Regions from separate parts of the Homo sapiens genome. Here regions 2 and 3 are each linked to region 1. Evidence: promoter capture Hi-C in human tissues and cell types (Jung and others, 2019). All regions are on one chromosome and are shown on one strand. The core of a region is centred on a gene start or on the middle of the fragment in contact, and the rest is flanking DNA. Distances in the headings are between cores, read along the strand shown.

Evidence for each region. Contacts are between HindIII fragments. The study calls those that stand out against the background at their distance.
Region 2: a fragment that was not itself captured here is called in contact with the fragment with the promoter of PSTPIP2 in region 1 in 2 of the 25 tissues and cell types used here (lymphoblastoid cells and spleen).
Region 3: a contact is called between a fragment that was not itself captured here and the fragment with the promoter of PSTPIP2 in region 1, in 1 of the 25 tissues and cell types used here (heart right ventricle).

The regions. Positions count from the first base shown.
Region 1 is chr18:46,069,558-46,074,514 of GRCh38, forward strand. PSTPIP2 (proline-serine-threonine phosphatase interacting protein 2) reads right to left here and starts at 2,703. Exons shown (of 15, transcript NM_024430.4): 1 at 2,599-2,703. The coding sequence starts at 2,631. RefSeq lists enhancers at 1,189-1,288, 1,329-1,388, 2,608-3,109 and silencers at 2,239-2,618, 2,659-2,708, 2,839-2,998. The HindIII fragment of the contact is 22,245 bases long and covers 1-4,957 here.
Region 2 is chr18:45,856,559-45,861,515 of GRCh38, forward strand. It overlaps EPG5 (ectopic P-granules 5 autophagy tethering factor), which reads right to left. Exons shown (of 44, transcript NM_020964.3): 40 at 3,546-3,788; 41 at 2,008-2,224; 42 at 1,295-1,510. Among named protein-coding and RNA genes, the nearest start is that of SIGLEC15, 33 kb to the left of the region's middle. The HindIII fragment of the contact is 4,070 bases long and covers 333-4,402 here.
Region 3 is chr18:45,878,581-45,882,064 of GRCh38, forward strand. EPG5 (ectopic P-granules 5 autophagy tethering factor) reads right to left here. Exons shown (of 44, transcript NM_020964.3): 32 at 1,495-1,643; 33 at 433-634. Among named protein-coding and RNA genes, the nearest start is that of SIGLEC15, 55 kb to the left of the region's middle. The HindIII fragment of the contact is 3,011 bases long and covers 1-2,783 here.

The DNA of each region.
Region 1 (4,957 bases), core at 1,453-3,952:
AGGCACACGCCAGCTCCAAGCCCAGTTTTAAACACTGATTATTCCCTTTTGAAGCAGATTCATCGAAGATTTCTTTAAATAAATATTTTCATGAAGCATTTAAATACATTCATTTATGAAGTGTGTATTGACTCATACTTTTTCAGGAACATGTACAAACACGTTTGACCACAGTCCTCTCACCTTCCTTGGAATGTCCCTCTCTTGGGCCTGTGATAGCTCTTTCCTGGTTGTATCCCTTCATCTCTTCCTCTATTTCTCTGTCCCCTTTCTCCTCCTCCATCAATAGAGGCATGCACTAAGAGTGCTTCTTTGTGGACTTCCGATCTCTTCATTCTTTCTCCTTGAATAACCATCACTCACTTCTTTTACTTGTCACCTCTACTGCTGATAATAATAGCTGGCAACTATAGGTGCTCTCTGTGTGTCAGGCACTGTACTAAACTCTCAAGTTTAATCCTCCCAACGGTCCTAAGGAGTAGACACTGTTATTATCCCCATTTTTATGTATGGAAAAACTGAGGCTTGGGGGCGGAAGCAGGCTGCCCAGGGTCACCTAGCTAGTAAGGGGCAGAACTGGATTCAAGCCCGGGCAGCCCACCTCAGAGGCTTCATGCTGTTCGGTAAGCTCTCAAAACTGGACATCTTCCCAAGGGGCGGGGCCATCTCCACCAGCCCCTCAAACCCTGCATGTCACCCACCAGACATTAGAGAGTACTCACTGACATGTTTGTACTGGCTGTGAAGATATTAAAATACTGCAAACTCTGTGGCCTGGAACCCTGTCTTCACCCTGTCACCCTCTCCGCTAAGACCTCCCCGTATCCAGCATCCCTGGCATGGGGCTGAGGGGTGGAGGCTGGTGGGGAGGGGCTTAGCGCCCGCCTGGCCTTAGCCTTGCCAGTGCTAAAACTGTGGCTAAATACTGAGGATTGTGTTGTTTGGTTGGGTTTGTTTGTTTGTTCGTTTTTGAGACAAACACAAATCACTCTGTCGTCCAGGCTGGAGTGCAGTGATGTGATCATAGCTCACTGCAACCTCAAACTCCTGGCCTCAAGCAATCCTCTTGCCTCAGCCTCCCAAGTAACTATATCTACAGGCATGCACCACCATGCCCAGCTAATTTTTAAGATTTTTTTGTAGAGACAGACAGAGTCTCACTATGTTGCCCAGGGTGGTCTCGAACTCCTGGCCTCAAGCAATCCTCCTACCTCGGCCTCCCAACGTGCTGGGATCACAGGCATGAGCCACTGTGCCTGAACTAAATACTGTTAGTATCACGTCTGCCTCCTTCTCCTTATGTCTCCACGAACCAGTTCCTCTGCTGACTTCCTTATTTCTGGGGCCCACATCTCATTCTCCAGTTTGTATTATACAGAGCCTTTTTCCCACAGTGCCTGCCATGGGATCCCCCAGTCCTCCATTCTACCTGAAAAACTCGCAAGCCTCCCGTGAGAGCCATCTGTGGTGCCCTTGGTTCCTCTGTGAGGCTGCCACCACCCTGCACCCTAGGGTGAGTAGTGCCCCAGAAGGACCTCACAAACTCCAGTGAAGGGACTCACAGGCACAGTCTCAACTGTGTCCCTGAGGTCCCCAGCCAGGTTTCTCTACCCTGCAGCCCACGTGGGGTAGAGGGACCATCTAGGCAGCTGTGAAGCTACCTGGGTGGGTGGTGGGGGGAGGCAAGCAGGAGCCCCAGTAAGGAGTCAGGGCCCCTTGGCAGCTGCGGTCAACTTTGAGGTTTGCAGCCTCCTGCTCCTGTCTTAAAGGGATGAGGACAGCTCCTCTGAATGAGGGGGCATGGACCTTGAGGGGCACCTGGGGAGTGAGAGGACAGAGGGAAGAGGACTAGACAGAGGAGGGGGACAGGCAGACCTGCTCCCTCCAGGCTGGGCTGGCCCTACCGGGCTGGGTGGGGTACCCCCTCCAGCTTATAGGGTCTCCCACACCATCAGCCCCGCTATGGGGCCTGGACGGAAGGGCTGGGGCAATGGCCTGGGGAGGGGGCTCGGGAAACAAGGCTGTAGAACAGGGAAAGCTCCAGCAAAGGGAAGCCCTCTATGCTGTACGTTTCCTGGAAAGGACGATCCCGGGGGGCAGCTGCTGCTGTCAACCCGGTAAAGCTCACAAGCCCCCACACCAGATCCCCCCAGATCCTCTCACGGCTCAGCTCCAGGGACCGGCAGAGACTCTCCCCGGACGGGTCTCGCCTCCCTAAGGGTCTCTGCTTCGCCTGTGAGAGGAGGGGTTGATGTCCTGACTCTAAGGTGTCTCGGCTCTCTGCGTCCTCAGGAGCACGCGCTGCTGGGGGCGCGGGCGGCAGAGGGTGGGCCCTGGAGTCCGAGCCCCCGGGACTCGCGGGCACGCGGTGGGTAGCGGGGGACAGAGAGGGAACAGCAGCCCGGCGTCCGCTCCAAGTCTGCCCCTCGAGCAGTGGGGCTGGGGCCCCGATCCCTTCACGCGCGAGCTCCGCCAAGCCCCCGGGCGCGCGGTCACCGAGTGGCGCCGGAGCTGGGGAGCCCCCCACGCCCGCCGCGTTGGCCTCCCGCCCGGGCCGGGTCCTGAGCCCCGCGATCCGCTGTCGGCCCCACGACTTACCCAAAAGTTTCCCTTGAACAGTGAGCGCGTCATCGCAGCGCGAGTGGGGGCGCGGAGGAGAGCCGGGCCGCAGGTAGCACAGAGCGGGGAGGCCTGACTGCCACTGCCCGCGGCTCCGCAGACTCAACTTCTGCGTTCCACACTCGCGCAGGGAAGCCGCCCCCGGGTCCTAAACCACTCCCGATTGCGACGGCCGCCGTCGGCGCTCTGCGCTCCCTGCGCGAGACCTGGGCGGGACCCTCGGCGCTCACCCGGCCAGGGGCTGCAGCCCGCACCCGGACCCAGGCCCATTTAAAGCCCCACAGCGTCGGGCCACGATCAATATATCAGCCCGAAGCTAGCTGCCTCCTTCTGGAAGTCTTTGGGTATTGGAAATAACTGGTCCTGGCTTGGGTTCCTGCCCACAAGGCCCCCTGGACAGCACGAAATCCAGGCTCTGCGGGGTGATAGACGGGATCTGATCAGATGGTCGCGAGGACCCGGTTTAAGCTACAGAAGGCCTGGGGCCGACAACTCCCGCAGACGCCTTGGCTTCACGGCGGGCCCCACCGGCACCTGCTGCAGATCAGGCCCTGGGGGACGGTTCATTTTTTATTTTACTTTTTGTTGTTGCAGGTGTTTTTAATGAATGGGGTCACGTTTTAGTCTAAAATGTCATGGAGAGGTCATCTCTGCTGTTTCCCCTTGACTCTAGTCACTTGGTGGTGTCCTAACAGGGCTTCCAGGAGCTCAGCCGCTCTCTGACTCCCTTTCCATTCTCAAAAGGCAAGACCCTTCCCTGCCCATTCCACCCCAGCAAGAGGGGCCCAAGATTCCTTCTTCTCCCTCCACTCTTCCACCCTCACAAATAAAACCCCAGGGCAGGTCAGACCCCTCTCTGCATTGTAGTAGATTGGTACAAAAGTAATTGCGGTTTTTGCCATGACTTTTAATAGTAATGCAGGGCTTATGACAAAGTACTGCCTGGTGCGACAGGCCCGAAGCCCAACCTGAGGCCCAGAGGGGTTGAATGGCTTGCCCAAGATCACAGTTTATTTAAGGGATGAAGAGCTCAAGGTTAGAGCTCTGCCCTTCTAAATAGATGCAAAGACAGACATCCTTCCTGGGGCAGATCCATCCTGGGCAGAGGAATAGGTGCTCAAAGTGGGGAGGATAAAGGTCAAGGTTGCCAAGACTGGCACCAGCCCAGCCTGGAGAAGCAAGCACTCACCCCTGGAGCAGGTTCTAGCTACACCCAGACACAGTGAAAGGGCAATTGCTAGAATTATGTGAAGCACCTGGAACAAGTTCTGCTCCATAAAACTGCAGCCAGCCCCACTCAGATGAACTCCCACCAATAAAGTCATCCACAACTGCAAAGATGGAGAGGTGGCCTCCAGCCACCAAGCATCTCCAAGGGATGCATCCATTTACGTACTTGCTCATATCCTTTGAAAGCAGTGAGATTAGAAGGAAGGCAGAGAAGCCTGGCAGAACCATCAAGGGGCAGCAGAGGACGTGGTAGGCACTAGGAAGCTAGGCTTAACTGCAGGGGGTAAGAAATGGCACAAACTGGGGACATAGAAGCGGGAGAGCTGAAGACACCACTAAGGTTTTTCCTGGAAGTTTTAAATATTCTGGAAAAATAGTTTAGATACAATTCTAATTGTCACATTTTAATTTTTAATACATGTATAATTTTAAGTTATTAGAACGTTTCACAAGCTCTCACAGTACATTGTGCTTGATTTTCGCGACTCAGACTCTAAGCTCCCTGAATTTTAACCCTCTTCCGCCATCTGGTGACAAAGTTTTTAATTGCAAATGGTCATCCACGCTGCTGGAAAATATTCTTCATTCCTCAAACAGCTCATCTCTGGGGCAGGTATTGTGAGTAAAAAAACAAACAAAGTGTGTGCTATATCCAAGGGACATATTTAGGATATTTTACTAACTTCTGTGGTTTGAATGTTGCCCCCTCCAAGAATTCTTGTTGAAACTTAATCTGAAATGAGACAGTATTGAGAGAGGTAGGATCTTTAAGAGGTGATTGGGTCACGAGGGCCACTAGTCCCATTCATGGATTAATGGGTTAGTAGATTAATGGGTTATCAGGAGATGAAACTGGTGGCTTTATGCTTTATAAGAAGAGGAAGAGATGGCTGGGCACAGTGGCTCATGCCTGTAATCCCAGCACTTTGGGAGGACAAGGCAGGTGGATCACCTGAGGTCAAGAGTTCAAGACCAGGCAGGCCAACATGATGTAACCCCATCTCTATTAAAAATACAAAATTAGCCGGGTGTGGCGGCACACGCCTGTAGTCCCAGCTACTTGGGAGGGTGAGACAGGAGAATCGCTTGAACCCAGGAGGCATAGGCT
Region 2 (4,957 bases), core at 1,118-3,617, 210 kb before region 1:
TGTGTATTTTATCACAATTAAAAAGAATAAAAGACGCAAGCCAAATTTAAGTAAAACAAAATCTCGCAGTCCTGCTATCTTCCACCGCAAACAAAAAAACATGACGTTAACTGGTTTGGAATGAGTGAGTCCCAAAGTTACAACATCACAATGGGCTATTCCACAAGAATGCTGACATCATCAAGTTTGCAAACTCTTTTCAACACTGACAAGGGCTTGAAAAGGAAACCATGATGTAAGTAAGTATTATGAGAGAAAACAGGAGCTAATGGCAAATTCTTCCATGCCTTGGGATTTTTTGCAACAAAAATCCAGACTTGCTTCTCATTACTTATCCTTCTTACCAACAGGCCTTTTATTCATTTTTTCTGTTTTTTTGAGACAGAGTCTTGCTCTGTTGGCCAGGCTGGAGTGCAATGGTGTGATCTCGGCTGACTGCAACCTCTGCCTCCTGGGTTTAAGCAATTCTCCTGCCTCAGCCTCCTGAGTAGCTGGGACTACAGGTGCTTGCCACCACACCCAGCTAATTTTTATATTTGTGTTTATTTATTTATTTATTTATTTATTTTTAGACAGGGTCTGACTCTGTCACCTAGGCTGGAGTGCAGTGGCATAATTTCAGCTCACTGAAACCTCTGTCTCCCGGGTTCAAGCGATTCTCCCACCTCAGCCTCCAGAGTAGCTGGGACTACAGGCATGTATCACCATGCCCGGCTAATTTCTGTATTTTTTGGTAGAAACGGGGTTTCACCATGTTGGCCAGGCTGGTCTCGAACTCCTGACCTCAAGTGATCTGCCTGCCTTGGCCTCCCAAAGTGCTGGGATTACAAGTGTGAGCCACCGCGCCTGGCCACCAACAGATCTTAACCCAGCTTGACGACTTTACAGTTCACTAGACTGAGTCCCTCACAGGTTCTGGATTTCCCTGAACGCCTCAAGTGCCCAGCTGACTTGGCTTTTAAACTATGCTCGCATACCGTCCATGACTAGCTCAAAACCAAAAAGAAATCAGTAGTGCAGTTAGGTTACAAAGTCCAAACACAACAGGAGATACTATTAAAAATACTGTTTGAATTGAAAATTTTTTTTAAAGGTAAGAAAAAATAAAAATGCTTTTTAGAATGTAAAGATGTAATCAGGCTCTGTTTTTTTTTTCTTTTTTTTTTTCCATTAATCTTTCTGGAGAACCTAGATCCTAAGTCGAAAAACCTACTGAAGTATATCACAACCTGTAAGTAGGTACAGATGTCTGAGGCCTATTTAGAACAACAGTGTTAGAAAGGCGCTTCCTTACCTGTTAGACAAAGGCGACTTCCGGCCAAACCCAATTGCCCCCAGGATCCCAGAGCTGAGTCTCTCCTCAGCCACGAGGTTCTGCCTGCTCTGAACCAAGAGCAGAATTCGAATGACAGATTCTGTCAGGACGGAGTCATTCTGCTCTGTCTGAATGAGGGAGAGCTGAAGGACTTGGTGCCACCACAAAAACAGCTTTGCCTCTTCCTCCACGGAGCTAGGGGAGGCACCGGAGGAAAATAAAATTAGAAGTAAATTTTTCCCACTCCCATTTAACTGCAAGTCCACATCAGAGTTTGAAGGATAGGAGACATTCAGTACTTCAAAAGCACAGGCTAACGGCTGATGTTAATAGAGCCATGGGATTGTAACCACCGCCATCTGTGGAACACCTACTACACGCCACTGTGATGAACTTCGTGTTCTTCCACTTCATCCTCATGACAGCCCTATCAGGTAGGGATTACTATCTCCACTTAACTGGTAAGGAAACTGATGCTTGGTGTTTCAAAGTGCCAGTTTTAGGAAACAAAAAATCTGCTCAGAAGATTAGCCTATTAATTAAGAATCTTTCCAAAACAACTGTCACCATACCTTAAAACCTTATTTTTTATGCACCTCTTGGTTCTGTGTACTTAAAGCTAGACTTAAGCTCTAAATTCCAAGTTAACCAAATACAGCAAGTTTGATGTAACAGCCTGAGGGCCAACGTACCTTGGGTACACCTGTTCCAGCCACTTGCTTAAGATGAGCAGCACTTTCATTTCATTCCTTAAAGTCTGTTCGCTGTTTAAACACTGAAGCAAGTAGACGTAAAGAGTCAAGTAACTGCCCAAGGTGAGGCACTCCTGCAGGAACTCTTCCATGGTGAGCTCGGGAACCTGAAGGGATACCAGAATGGGTCCCCATCCTGAATTCTGATTGAGAGGGCCTAAGAACATGAAGAAGAGACATCAAGATATAGGCAAGAATCCAATTACTTGACAACTCTAGCAAATATTTTCACTTTAAGCTTCATGATTTTTTTTTTTGACATAGCAACCTATGAGATAATAAGCTTCATGTCAAGACAACCTTTCTTACAGTGACCTTGGAGGCTACAAAAGTCAAATATACCTCAGGGCTCAGACTGGATAGCCCTCAGGCCAGATGCCTGTCCCCAGCGTAGCCACCAGAAAGGTTTAAGAAATCAGAATTCAGGGCTGCATACGTATAAATCACCTTTCTATCACATTATGATCCTTAAAACCACATGTAGACACTGCCTGTCCTGGTCAGTTAAGAATTTTAACTTTAATACCCTTTTTAAGAACATATGAACACTTATGCTTTCCGACGGGAAACTGTTATCACTCAATCTGTGAGTAGTTTTACTTATCAAAGCTTAGTTTAACTCATGTATTGAAACTGTTTGATTTTTAGTAACACACATGAGTTTGGAATAGCAGTGTTATCCTAATGGTTCTCCACTCTTTGGGGGAGCGAGGGTGGGGTGGCATGGTGACATGCACACCACCTCCATGGGTGGGCATGTGCTGTTCATGGGTGGTCAGGACAGGGCAGATGGCAGGTTGTGGGCACTTCCTGGATCCTTGCTCCGATACCCTCCTTCTCACTACTGCTTCTCTCCCACTGACTGCAGTGTGATGTGTTATCTGGATATCAGAGTTGAGAAGTGCTGTTCTCAGCAATTCTTAATCAGACTAAGCCGCTTCCAGAGTCTGACAGTTTAGAGGTAGAAAGTAAAACAGATTTTTAAAAAGGAGGGGTGACAATGAATGAGCCCTTCATAATGCTTTAAAAGGTCTGATAAGCAGCAATTTTAAAAACTTCTATGAAAACTCCTTTTACCAAAAGTGACAAAAACAGGGAAAATTAACCTCATGGACTATGATTATATAGATCCTGGTATATAGCATTTGTTCTGAGGACTATGACTTGGCCTGTGACACAACACAATTTGCATATCATAACAGGTTGGTCTGACCCTCCAAAACTAACGTGAAGTGGATTAGAGCTTTTCTCCCTTGAAATGTGATTGTACCAACAGACATGGCCACAGGTTCTCATGCTAACTGCAGATCTTTATGAAAAATACGTATATTCAGAAACATCCACAACATTTGTAGAGCAGAAAATTAGAATGGCAAATCCCTCACTGGGAAGAGTCTGGAAACATATCTGCTGATGACAATGCTTTCATCTTTCTGGAAAAGACCAATACAATGGAGCGTAAGATGACCTCCTCTTACTTTCTTTGAAGTAGGCAGTGATGCAGGCTTCTGTAGTCTCAGCCATGTGGCGGACGGACGCCAGGCTCTGGCAGGCTGCTGTTAAAAGGGGCAGCACCACCAGCCCATGCATTTTTTGGCCAATCCAGGTCCGGATACTGCCCCGAAGGAACTCTGCTGTTGGAATAGTCGCGTTGTTCATCATCATCAGGACTTCCATAAAGAGGCTGCTGAGGGCCATGTGGCGGGTCTGGCTGTCCATGTCTGAAAGGAATATAGACACACTCAAGAATGGCTGCCAGAAAGGTACTATCCATGTGATCAGGAGAATAACAGTGCTTCAATCTTAGCTGTTCTCCAGGCAGATTTTACAGTGCTAGTAGCTGACTGCAAGGGACTGGAAGGAAGGCTCTGGATGGTGTTAAGTTTGTACAGGTAGTATGCGGCACACGGTTACTAAGAGTAAAAGCAGGAACTACTGTGAGTTCCCTGGGTACAGCAGCATAGCAGAGCAATACTTAATAAATAGACAAATCTGAAGCTGGTGTGAAAGAGTAACTTATCAGAACATGCCTAGTCAGTCTTTATTTTCCAACCTTTGCTCATGGAAAACCAAATACGTAGATCTCACCAGTCATTCAGTAAACCAAGTAGCAAAAGTACCCACTGTCACTGCCACCGCTGTCAATATTCTAGGGTGATTTACACACATTAAAGGTTATTACTTAAAACTAAATATAAATGTAAGGAAAAACCTTTGTAAAGTGTCCTAACAGCAGCTCTTTTATTTCTTTGTTTTTTAAATAAGGAAAGTAAACCAACTGGTAATTTTTCAAAAAAAATTGGAGGTAAAGAGAGAGGAATTCAAGAAAAAGAACGAATTCATTTTACAAGAGAACTGCAAATCTTCACATTCAAAAACAGAAAATATATTTTACTGAGAGTTAAATGGAATAATTTTTGCCAACTCTTCTAGCTCTCCTCAAGCTGTAGCTTTCACACCACAAGGATTCAGTATTTATGTCAATAGGAAGGGTAAAAAGTTGAGAGATCTTACTCATCGCATCTATCAAAACAAATTCATCTACTTATGCAGGGTTAAATAAACCCTCACTTAATCTTTCTGTACGACCTACTTACTATCAAGCAAGGACTTAAAAAACAAGTTTGAGAGAGATAGTAACAGTATATCTGTCTATTTCTTCATGTATTTCTATGGGTACAAATATTCTTGGAAATAAAGGCTCATCTCTGAATTTCAACGGAATAGCAATTTAAATTTTATCTCTTAATTATGACTAATAGGAATAGATTACTACAACAGACCCTAGTCTCTCCCATTCCTGTTCATATCAACAGGGCTCTCAAATCTTTTCCTAAATACCATATCTGATCCTATCACTCTTCCGATGAAGATCTTTCCAGAACACCCT
Region 3 (3,484 bases), core at 28-2,527, 190 kb before region 1:
TTAGTGTAACTATGTATGTTTACGTTTTCATTGGCTACACTGGAATTTCTCTGAATTGAAGAATTTGTATTACAATACAATATCATGGATAATTTTATAACACACTTTTAAAAAAGATAAATGTATAAGATTTAGAACCCCATCTTAGTAAGACAAATGACAGAAAGGGTTGGAAACTGAAACCTCTCTGTACCCCAACCTGCAAAGGAGGGGCAGAGACAAGCTATAGCAAGCACCCTACATTCACTATGTAATGAATATATCCATTCATATATTGTGACATATATGACACATATATGGGCTCATGCCTGTTCTATATATTTCTACTTTCTCTCCTTGACACTCAATATAAATCTCTTAATGTGCCTATTTAAATCTCTCTTAATGGAAAGTCCAAACACCTAGCTCCACATCGCATGAGAAGTATATTACCTGTTTTCCTGCTGGCAGTTGGGTCTTGGGCCAAACAGGTCATTTCTAAGTCAATCAGCCTTTTCACAAGGTAGCCCAAGAATGTCTTCACATCAGCCATATAAGGACTCCATTTTGAGAATAAACCAAAGCTTTTAAAGTCCATCTTGGATAACCGAAGCTTATAAAAAAAGTCTGAAAGCCACTGTATAGTCTCCATTACCTGGAAGAGACAACTAGTCAAAAAATGCTTACTAAATATGTATTTTAGTAAAGTGTTATGATACACTGTGATGGGGGTGTATATAGTAGGTCTTTGACTTTATAAGAGAGTGGCAAAAATATAAAGCATATGAGAAATAAATCAATGGTTTTTTGTTTTTGTTTTTGTTTTGAGGTAGAGTCTTGCTCTGTCGCCTAGGCTGGAGTGCAGTGGCACGATCTTGGCTCATCGCAACCTCCGCTTCCTGGGTTCAAGCGATTCTCCTACCTCAGCCTCCTGAGTAGCTGGGACTACAGGCGTGCACCACCATGCCCAGCTCATTTTTGTATTCTTTAGTAGAGACAGGGTTTCACCATGTTGCCCAGGCTGGTCTCGAATCCCTGACCTCAAGTGATCCGCCCACCTTGGCCTCCCAAAGTGCTGGGGTTACAGGCATGAGCCACCGCGCCAGGCCATCAGTGGGTTTCAAACCTTTTCTAAATCAGTGGAACCATTATTTCAAATAAATTCTCATGCAAATGCATATCAAACAGAAAGGATAAAACCCAGAGCTCCATGGGACACTGCATCATAGAAACCCGACCAGAGGTCTCAGGGTGGAGTCCGATGGGCTAGGGTGGGCAGGAAAGATCTACAGGGGAGTGCCTGCCCTTGTCTTGGATACATGGGCAAGAATTAGACTCAGGGGAATGGGGTGAGCCATCTGGAAAAAGGGGACACGAGGGAACCAAAGCACTTAACACAAAGAAAAACACATGGCTCTTAAAGATAATGCACAAGTTTTCCAACTGCTTAAAAAATGAATAGCAAGGGAAATAAAAAGAAATGCACAAACACGTCAGAGACCAAAGGCTACACACCTGCTTGTCTGACAAGAGAGCATCAGAAGAGCTGGGAAGCACGGCGCCCTCGGTGGACGCTGCCCCCTGCTGGCAGCTGGGGGCGCAGCAGCCCAGGGCTCTCAGAGTGGCCTTCCAACACTCGGGGCTCAGAAGCTGCTCCGCGGAGCCTGCCAGCAGGGACAGGAAGAGCAAGTCAGTGGCTTTCCCGAAAGGAATATTTTAACTTGTAACAAAGAATATGAGCACCTTATAAAGGAATAAAAATAAAGCCAAAATCCAAAACAAACTCACAGGGATATCTGGGGTGAGGAGGCCCAAGTAAAGAGAACCTAAGAGAAGAACTGGCCACCTGCACATTTGGTTTTCCTGGTTCCTGGTAACCCTGCTGGGAGTGAGCGCTGCTGAAGCTGGTGGAGCTACACTCAGAGGGGTGGGAGACCTGACCCTCCGACCCTGACTGGGGAATGGTGGCAGTGCCTCTCCTGGCTGGGGGACCACAGCTATCTATGAGTGTGACAGAAACAACAGTCACAGGACAACGGAAACCACATGATGAAGGCAACTCAGGGCCTGGGCTCTCCAGAAGGAGTCTCCTACCGGCCCCCCAATTCCCCGAAACCAAGACCCAGAGGCAGCATGGAAACGCTGGACAAGTCCAGCAGCCCATATTCTGAACTAGTCCCAACTCTGCTACTTAATAACTTCCCATCCCACAGGACAGGAATAATATCTCCTAAAGTACTTTCCACCCAGAGCGAACATGAGAATCAACTAAAATAACAGGTTCATGGAGCAGGTCTGAGGAGAACGATGGTGAGGCCAGTTACAATATGTCCAGTGTGAGGTACCTGGGGACAGTGCCAGTCTGTGTCCAATGGCCACTGGGGTCTGGATCTTAGGACAGCGCCCCAAAATTAAGCTATCACTGGAAATCACACATGCCTAGAAGGTGGCAGTGACATCAGGGAAAACAACGGGCTCACCCAGAGGGAATGAATGCAGTAGAAGAGCAAAGGATGCTCCCAAGGGAACATCAACATGGTAGCCAAGGAGGAGAAAGAAACCAGGAGGCTGAAGCTCATGACATCTGAGAGGTATCATATTGTTATTCTTAAGTCTGAATTACTTTTCTTGGTAAGAACAAATTTCTAGCTAAATTCCAGTCAATAGTGGTCTAATATAAATGGTTTACAATCTCTTTAAAAGATTTCAGGGAAAAATCCACAACACACACTATTTGAAACTTTAAAAGCTTAGAGAAAAAATTAGCTATGCACATATTCATTGGCATTTGTACAAATGTATTTCCCTTCCACCATTCTCCACCCACCCTGCAACCTGCCTCTGTGGGAAACAATTAAAGCTTGAAGTGCTTTCAAAATGAGAGGCTGCACATTTCAAGGTCCTTTGGGCAACCCGATACACTGGATCATTAACTTATCCATTAAACTATTTCTATGATGTAACACAAAAATTTGGTATAAAGCAAAATTTCATTTGCTATTATATCTATAAACCGTATGAAGTTTGCATTAAAAAGTAAATACTATCTCATTTATCAAATTTTAATAAAATTACTGCCTAGCGAAACTCCAAAAATAAAAAAGCCTACCCTATTTATTTCTCCTCTAAACTCTAAAATTGCTATAGAAAATTGTAAGAAGGGGGAACAGAAGTGGCAGGAATGTGGAGATTGTAATGCTGCTCTTTCCCTTGGTAAATATAAATAAAGTCTATCATTACATATGGATAAAATTAATTTGCAAAAAACAAGAGTAAAAGACTTAGAAAGGAAAAACTCCCAAAATGTTTGGAACTACAGAGAAACAAACTGTCATATTAAACATATCATAAGGCACAACCTCCTTGCTTTGCCAGATCTGTCGTCTGCAGAGTAAGCCAGTCCTTTCCCACCCCACTTCAAGACAGCTGAAAAGTCAAGACAAAGAAGTACCTGCATGACTGTGGACTCCACCAAACTGGAGGTGCTGCCTTGCCCAATTAGAGC